Regions from separate parts of the Homo sapiens genome. Here regions 1 and 2 are each linked to region 3. Evidence: promoter capture Hi-C in 16 types of primary human blood cells and fetal thymus (Javierre and others, 2016). All regions are on one chromosome and are shown on one strand. Each heading gives the region's core, a stretch centred on a gene start or on the middle of the fragment in contact. The rest is flanking DNA. Distances are from core to core; before and after follow the strand shown.

The links. Contacts are between HindIII fragments. The CHiCAGO score rates a contact against its expected background, and 5 or more counts as called.
Region 1: a fragment that was not itself captured here is called in contact with the fragment with the promoter of ATP5MC1 in region 3 in 1 of 17 cell types (neutrophils); the score reaches 5.3 in neutrophils.
Region 2: a fragment that was not itself captured here is called in contact with the fragment with the promoter of ATP5MC1 in region 3 in 1 of 17 cell types (neutrophils); the score reaches 5.8 in neutrophils.

Annotation. Positions count from the first base shown.
Region 1 is chr17:48,013,891-48,016,590 of GRCh38, reverse strand. No RefSeq gene overlaps it. Among named protein-coding and RNA genes, the nearest start is that of MIR10226, 18 kb to the left of the region's middle. RefSeq lists enhancers at 565-1,064, 1,065-1,566. The HindIII fragment of the contact is 3,187 bases long and covers 1-2,700 here.
Region 2 is chr17:48,029,827-48,032,526 of GRCh38, reverse strand. It overlaps COPZ2 (coat protein complex I subunit zeta 2), which reads left to right. Exons shown (of 9, transcript NM_016429.4): 6 at 294-371. Among named protein-coding and RNA genes, the nearest start is that of MIR10226, 1.7 kb to the left of the region's middle. The HindIII fragment of the contact is 869 bases long and covers 891-1,759 here.
Region 3 is chr17:48,891,345-48,894,044 of GRCh38, reverse strand. ATP5MC1 (ATP synthase membrane subunit c locus 1) reads right to left here and starts at 1,258. Exons shown (of 5, transcript NM_005175.3): 1 at 1,135-1,258; 2 at 589-636. The coding sequence starts at 627. It overlaps LOC105371814 (a long non-coding RNA gene), which reads left to right. Exons shown (of 4, transcript NR_135674.1): 2 at 1,368-1,798. RefSeq lists enhancers at 456-505, 546-655, 1,236-1,355, 1,366-1,825, 1,463-2,442. The HindIII fragment of the contact is 10,294 bases long and covers 1-2,700 here.

The DNA of each region.
Region 1 (2,700 bases), core at 163-2,662, 880 kb after region 3:
ATGCGGCCTGAACCCAGGTATGGATTTCATTTTGAAGAAAGGTCTCCTTGTAGGGCACTATCCTGGACCCAGTGGGCCTGCCCTTCCTATTTATTTCTTAGTGAAACCAGAAAGTTTGCTGGGGCCAGTATGATGGAGCATCGTGACTGACAAATGGCTGGGATTAGTCTAATGGGTAGGCAGCTGTATATGGAGGAAGGCGATGAGGGATCAGACCATTTCCCCAGATTCCAGTGGAAACTTTGCAGGCAGTAGCTAAATGAGTCAGAGAAGATAAGAAGACTGGAGTACCTTGCAGAACACTTCCCATACCCTCCCACCTCCAGCCCCAAGGAGGATTAGGATGCAGGGAGTCTGCAGATGAAACAGTTGTTTACAAAGGCTGGAGAAGCATGCCAGGAAACTAGTCCAGGGGCAGTTTCCAGGGCCTGAGATTGATACTACTCCATCTTGAAAACTGAAAAAAAAAAAAAAAAAAAAAAAAAAAAAAGTGTGACTCTTTAGTTCTGTACTCCCTTTAGTTCTGGGAGTGCATTTGGAGTTTCCTTTAAATTCTATGTGGATACAGGATGCTGAAGGAGGAGAATCACTTGAACCCCAGAGTCAGAGGTTGCAGTGAGATGAGATGATGCCACTGCTCTCCAGCCTGGGCGACAGAGTAAGACTGTTTCAAAAATAAAACAAAAGGCCAGGCGTGGTGGCTCACGCCTATAATCCCAGCACTTTGTGACTCCATCTCAAAAAAAAAATAATAAATAAATAAAATAAAATAAATTGTATGTGGATAAATTGAGGAGAGCTAAGGTGCAACACATGAGAAAGAGACAAGGGGTGGGGGTGGGCACAGTGGCTCACGCCTGTAATCCCACCACTTTGGGAGGCCAAGGCAGGTGGATCACCTGCGGTCAGGAGTTCACCAGCCTGGCCAACATGGTGAAACCTTGTCTCTACTAAAAATACAAAAATTAGCTAGGCATGGTGGCACACGCCTGTAGTCCCAGCTACTCCGGAGGCGGAGGCAGGATTGTTGCTTGAGCCCATGAGGCAGAGGTTGTAGCGAGCCGAGATCACGCCACTACACTCCAGCCTGGGCGACACAGTGAAACTCCAACTCAAAAAGAAAAAAAAAAGGGGGCGGGCGTGGGTGCTGGGAAGGCAAGAAGGAAATAGCAGAGGAGAGACAAGGGAACTCCTGGCTTGGGAAGGCTCTTGCCTGTCCCACCTCATGCAAGCATAAGCACTCCTGCCAAGACGGGGGCCCTCCGGAGGATGTCCAACTTAAAGCTCAGATCCTGGGCAGCAGCAATGGGGAGGGGATTGGGGTATCCCAGGGCAGATGGCCTTAAGGGACCTATTTGTAGAGGCAGAGGCCCAGAGGCTGTCATATGCAAGCTGCTTAGGGTCACAAGAGAAATCCGGAGCTTCCCTGATGACCATCTTTCTTCTCCTCCTCTTTCTGACTCTCTTCTTCCTTCCACTCTCCCTAAACCTGCTGAATCCCTTAGGCAGCTGGGATCAACATAAGCTAGAAACTGATGCGTATACAAGGGAAATCGGGAAGCCTAGAAACAGCAGAACCTGGGAGGGGTACCTGTGTACAGGGCAAATGAAGGGAGCCTGAAAACAGCTGAATCTGGGGAGATGGAACTGCCTAGTGAGAGAGCAAGGGGCTTCTGGAAACTGCTGAATCCAGGGAGGCCAATTTGTATACCGGGGAAATATGGGGGAACCTAGAAACAGCAGGATCTGGGGAGACAGTCGTGTACAGGGGGCAGACAGAGGGAGTAGCCTGAAAACAGTTGAATCTGGGGAGGAAGATTCGTGTGCAGAGGGAACAAGGGGAGACTGGAAACAGCACAATCTGGGGAGATAGGATAGTGTACAGTAGAAGCTAGGGTGGCCTGGAAACTGGGGCTCTCAGGGGATGAATCTGCTTTAAATTGCACGGGGGGGTGAGGGAGCCTGGGGAATCTGATGTGGCAGGCGCGAGCAGGGACACGGGCAAGCACAGGGGTGGAGTCAGGGTGCTGGTTGCATGGAAGGGGAACGCAATGGAACTCCCTGCCTTGTAGGTTTGAGTTAGACCCCTTGGCAGCCTCTTCTTGCAGACAGGGCAGGGTAAGGGAGTAGCTCTCCAATGGGGAGCCAGGATTTCACACGGCAAGAAGAGAAGGGCCTTTGTGTGCAGTTGCTGCCCTGGTCCTAAAATGAGCAAAGCCTGGAATTCCCTAGGGGAAACAGCCCAGGAGTTGGAGTGGGAGAGGATGAGGAGGTTGAAGGAGCTTCGGTCCCCTTGCCTGCCTTCTTCCCAACCCCTCTCTGACAGGGATAGGCCTCTTTCTCCCTTTCTACCGACCAGCCTGACCTCTCCCTTCAGCAGTTCCCTTCTGAGTGACAGACAGACAAAGACAGAGCTGTAGACCATTGACTGAAGGAGGCCCCACAAAAGTTCTCTCCCAACCCACCATCCCCCCATACCCTCCCCAGAGGCCCTGAGCCAGCCAGGGCCAACAGGAGCTGTCACTCTAGTGGAGCTGCCTTCAGGTAGGTGACAGGCCTTCAGGAGGCAGGGTGACTAGGGGCTGGGAAAGGCCTGAGATTTTTGGGATTCTGTCTGTGCCTCTTGGAAACCAGAGTTTCCCAGCCGGTTGCCTCTGAGAGAGGACTTGGAAACCAGAGTTTCCCAGCTGGTTGCCTCTG
Region 2 (2,700 bases), core at 76-2,575, 860 kb after region 3:
TAGCATCTAACCTAGTTGTGAAACGCATCTGGGGTCCTGTGGTGGGTGCCAGGGTGTCAAGGCCCAAAGTATGGGAGGTTGGACAAGGTAGGGTGTAAGGAAGCAGAACTGCCCTTTGCTCAGAAATGCCTTGCATGGGCTCTGTGCTCACTGCCCTTCACATTCTCCTTCCCAGTCCTTGTTTGGTGAGGGGTGAATGAGGCAGTCTTTGGAGAGTGGGGTCAGCCTCACCTAGGCAGGGACTCAGTTCCTCCCAGCCACAGGGAGGCTCAGGAGCTTGTGTCCACCTTCAGGAAGAACGTGGAGAAGCGCTGGTTGCTGGAGAACATGGACGGAGCCTTCTTGGTGCTGGACGAGATTGTGGATGGCGGGTGAGGAGGGGACAGTCAGGGACACTCACAGCAGGAGTGCCTTTGATAATCATCAGCCCCAGATGGCACCCAGCATGGCTAGAACTCTGACCAACTTCTCACTCCCTTCCCCCAGCATATTCCCAGGGATCCCATTCCCCTAGCCCTTCCCCTTACTAGCGCCCCACTCATGAAGATAGAAGTTGATTTCAATGTTAGCCAAAGTCAAGCCAAACAAGAGACTAACCTGATGTCAAACTATGGGAGACTGTTGAATAGGCAGGGTTTGGGGAAAATCCAGTTTGGTCTCCAATGCCCAGGGGAAGCACTGGCACAGATGCTGGCCCTCTCTGGAAGGACTTCAGACAGTCCCACCAGCCCCACATGTCCTGCTCTTAGGGCTCAATTCCAACACAAGCTAGATGCGTGACCTGGGTCAATTACTGACCCTCCCCGAGGCTTACTTTCTCCATCTTTAGGATGGAGGTAATAAGGGATTGTGGGGATTAAATACATGTGTGAGAAGATACATGTGAAGCTTGTGGTTCTCATTCAATAGATGTTGCCTCCTATTGGTATGCTAGTATATTCTTAGGAAGCTAGGAGCTCTTTTGAGAAAAGTTGGCTTGTGAATTTCCATCAGGGGATCAATATTCAGAGAGAAAAAGAAGTTCTGGCTCTGGGGCAAAGGATAATAAAAATTTCTTTTTTTTTTTTTTTTGAGACAGAGTCTCGCTCTGTCACCCAGGCTGGTGTGCAGTAAGTGGCGTGATCTCGGCTCACTGCAAGCTCCACCTCCCGGGTTCACACCATTCTCCTGCTTCAGCCTCCTGAGTAGCTGGGACTACAGGCACCCACCACCACACCAAGCTAATTTTTTGTATTTTTAGTAGAGACGGGGTTTCACCATGTTAGCCAGGATGGTCTCGATCTCCTGACCTCGTGATCCGCCCACCTCAGCCTCCCAAAGTGCTGGGATTACAGGTGTGAGCCACCATCCCCGGCCAATAGAAATTTCTTGAGCTCCTTAAAAACATACATCCCTCTATCATTACATCATTTTATACATTAGGAAACAGGCTCAAAGTTTCAAGTGACACGCCGGAGGTCTCTCACACAGCTAGGGAGTGGCAGGGCCAAGATCTAAAACCATGTGAATAGTTCCAGAGGCCATGCTGTTTCTATGGCACTGTACTGGACTGCCTGGGGCACTAAGGAATGCCTCCTGCAGATTTCTGGGACCCAAAAGGGAGTGGGGTAACGCCAGGTTTTGGGGAGCCAGAAGCATATACAATTTGGTGAACCCTCTTGAAGGAAAACTTTACACAAACACACACAAAACTATAAATGCAAAACAAGATGCAGGGCTCTGGATGGCTGTGCAAAGGAGGATGCCTGAGGTGTAAGCTTCACAAGCTTCCCGTCTCTGCCTCTGAGGAACTCAGTTTCCTGCCAAGAAAAACTGGGGAAGCGCCAGTCGGGAGGCAACGCCTAAACTGGAGCCTTGGCCTGGGATGCTCTTTCTTTATGGATTACAGGACCCCTGGTTAGGGAGCTTGGGACAGGGGGTGCTCAGCCCAAGGATGGGGACTGGAAGAGGCTCCCAAGAAATGTTTGTCATTTCCAGTGATTTAGTAACAAAGAGAAACAAAGCTTCTGCCTTGGAGGAGTCTCAGTGGGTAAGGAGGTACACTCAGATCCTGTCATCTTTGTCCTGCCGCAGTGACAGGCCCTCACGCCCATGTACCCTGTACATAACCCCAAGGCCTCACGAAGGAGCGCCTGCTCTCTGAGAAAAGCTACAATATTTGGGTCTATCAAAAGGGAATTTTTTTGTTTGTTTCTTTGTGTGTGTGTGTGTGTGTGTGTGTGTGTGTGTGTGTGTGTTTTGAGATGGAGTCTCACTCTGTCGCCCAGGCTGGAGTGCAGTGGCGTGATCTTGGCTCACTGCAACCTCTGCCTCCTGGGTTCAAGCAATTCTCCTGCCTCAGCCTCCCGAGTAGCTGGGATTATAGGCGTGCGCCACCATTACCGGCTAATTTTTTTTGTATTTTCAGTAAAGACGGGGTTTCACCATATTGGCCAGGCTGGTCTCGAACTCTTCACCTTGTGATCCTCCCACCTTAGCCTCCCAAAGTGCTAGGATTGCAGGCGTGAGCCACTGTGCCTGGCCTAAAAGGGAAGATTTAAAAAAAAAATTTTTTTTTTTTAGACAGAGTCTCACTGTGATGCCCAGGCTGGAGTGCAGTGGCGCAATCTTGGCTCACTGCAACCTCTGCCTCCCGGGTTGAAGCGATTCTCCTGCCTCACCCTCCCAATTAGCTGGAATTACAATGTGTGCCACCATGCC
Region 3 (2,700 bases), core at 9-2,508:
GTAATCAGATGGGGGAAATTTTATTCTGCTAAAATACACTCACAGCTACACACCCTAAATGGAGTGGGCCAGTCAGCCCCGGAAACCGACTGGAATAGCCATCCAAGGAGAGCCATCTGTAACATGGCTTTTTTGAAATAATTTTTAGTGCAGTGGTTCTCAAACTTGGCTGCACGGTGGAATCATCTGGAGAAGTCTTAAAAGATACAGATGCCTGGGTTCCACCCCCATTCCCAAAGTCTGATGCAAATGGTCTAAGGTGCAGCCTAGGCATCAGGATTTTAAAAAGTTCCCTGGATGATTCTAACGTGCAGCCACTGTTGAAAACCACTGTTTTAGTGGGCTGTCTCTATGGCCAGGACAGACTGGGGATAAAAATCAAATCCAGACTCTCTGACCACATTCCAAAGCCAAGATAGCTTGGTTCACAGGCCCAGATAAACAGGGGTTACCTTCATCACATCCTACAGCCACCTCAAAGAGCCTACATCATCAGGACGCCAAGCTCCCCTGGGTTCATTCATTAAACACTGATGGCGTCCACACCATACACCTGGTACTACAGAGCACTGCGGCGCGGCACCTTACCAGAGCTGGAGAAATGAATAATGCCCCGGCGGTCTGCATTTTTTCAGTCTGCAGAGGGGGAAAAAATAGTAATAATAATCCCACTGAGACCCTGGTTGTTTGCTTATAATGACGACCTTTGGTCGTCCCCTTCACCCCCGTCCGTCCTCCCTAGACCACGCTCTTCCTTGCACCGTGCCCCAGCTGAGGAGGGCATTAGAGGTCAGAGGGACAGAGCAGTGGGTCTTCAAAGCAAAGTCATGGAGATCGGAAGTCAAGGAAATGTGCCCAAGCCCCAGGAAGGAAATGTTGCGAAAGGGAATGGTCTCTCGGGAAGACTGGAGGCGGATACTGGGCAGGTGTCGCGCAGGATCCTGCCCATCTTACACAGCAGTCCCCGACCCGCCCCAGCCGAGGCAGTCAATCGTTCATTACCGTTGGTAATTAACATTCATTGATAAGGCCATATCTAGATTGCCATAGCCTCTCCCAGCACTGGGGGGAAATACCCCTCCACACTGCCCAGCCCACAACCCTGCCTATTGCTGGCTCCCGGCCCCAAGTCACCTGCACTCCTACTACCCTGCAACCCCTGCTTGGCCCACAGCGCTCGCCCGGCTCAAGGTGACAGACTCACCTCCCAGCTTTAGCCCTTGGTCTCAGCGCTCAGCTTCCCCCACCCACGTGTCCTGGACCTTCTCCATTCTCATTGGCCGTAATATCCCCGCGTCCCCATTGGTTGACGTCATCGATTCCCCACTCTTATTGGCTTTCCGCAGCTGCTTCCTCTCCCTCCACAGGAGCTTCGTGGCAATTCCCGCCTCCATGCGGATAGAGGCGGGGCTTTCCTACGAGATCTGGATTACGATTGGCCGATCCCTGAAACGCTCGACCATAGAGTTGGCGGGACTCAGAGGTTCCATAACCTCGCGCACAAGATGGCGACCAAGGTGTACGCTGAAGAAAAAGGCGTGGGAGAGATGACGGGACGTGTGACGCAGTCAGACACATGACTTTGGCCCCGAGCCTTCATTCGGGCGCTTGGGCCACGGGGCGCGTTGCATGTTGGGATTGGTAGTTGCGCTGAGGGGGGGGGCCCAAGGACAGCTGAGATCCCGCGAGATATTCTAGGCCGGGAGAGCCGATGCCTTTGCAGTAATTCCCACCGTGGAGGTTTGTGGAAAGACCGCTTTCCATGGAGAGTAAAGGCCGGCTGGAAAGTCCCCAAGCGGTGAGCGCAGTTTTGTGGACCTCAGCCGGTGTTCAGCAGTCATGGACTATCATCCAGATGGCTTTCTAAAACATTTGTTGGGCCGGGTGCAGTGGCTCACGCCTGTAATCCCAGCACTTTGGGAGGCCGAGGCGGGCGGATCACCTGAGGTCAGGAGTTCGAGATCAGCCTGACCAGCATGGTGAAACCCCGTCTCTACTAAGAATACAAAAATTAGCCGGGCATGGTGGTGGCGCGTGCCTGTAATCCCAGCTACTTGGGAGGCTGAGGCAGGAGAATCGCTTGAACCCGGGAGGCCGAGGTTGCAGGGAGCCGAGATCGCGCCACTGCACTCCAGCCTGGGCAACTGAGCAGGATTCCGTCTCGGGGGAAAAAACAAACAAAAAAATTGTTTATTTTGTAAAAACAACACTGAAAGAATGAAATAATATCCCTATAGAAAAACGAGCAAAGGATAGGAACAGGCAATTCAGTAAGGAAGAAATATGAATTGCAGGAACGAATGTCAGCCTTCCTAATCAAAGAAATATAAGTTTAAACGCTCCGCTTAGTACTGCTCAAAACAGCAGAGTTCTTTTTATTAATGTGAGCCACACGCTCTCCTATATTGCTGGTGAGAGGATGAATTAGAAAACCTTCCTTGAAAGCAGTTTGGCAATATTTATTTTTATTCAAAGGCTGTGAATGGGCCATCCTCTTTGACCCAGTAATTCTTGAGTAACTAAGAGCCTTTAAGCTCTCCATCCACTTTTCATCCAGTAATATCACTTCTAGGAATTTATTTTGAAGAATCAGAAATGCAGATTCTTTTAAAAAGATGTGCATTTGCAGAGTTTGTCGAAATTGGAAACAAGTAAATGTTCCACTGACAGTAAAAGGTGAAATAAGTTATGATATTTTCA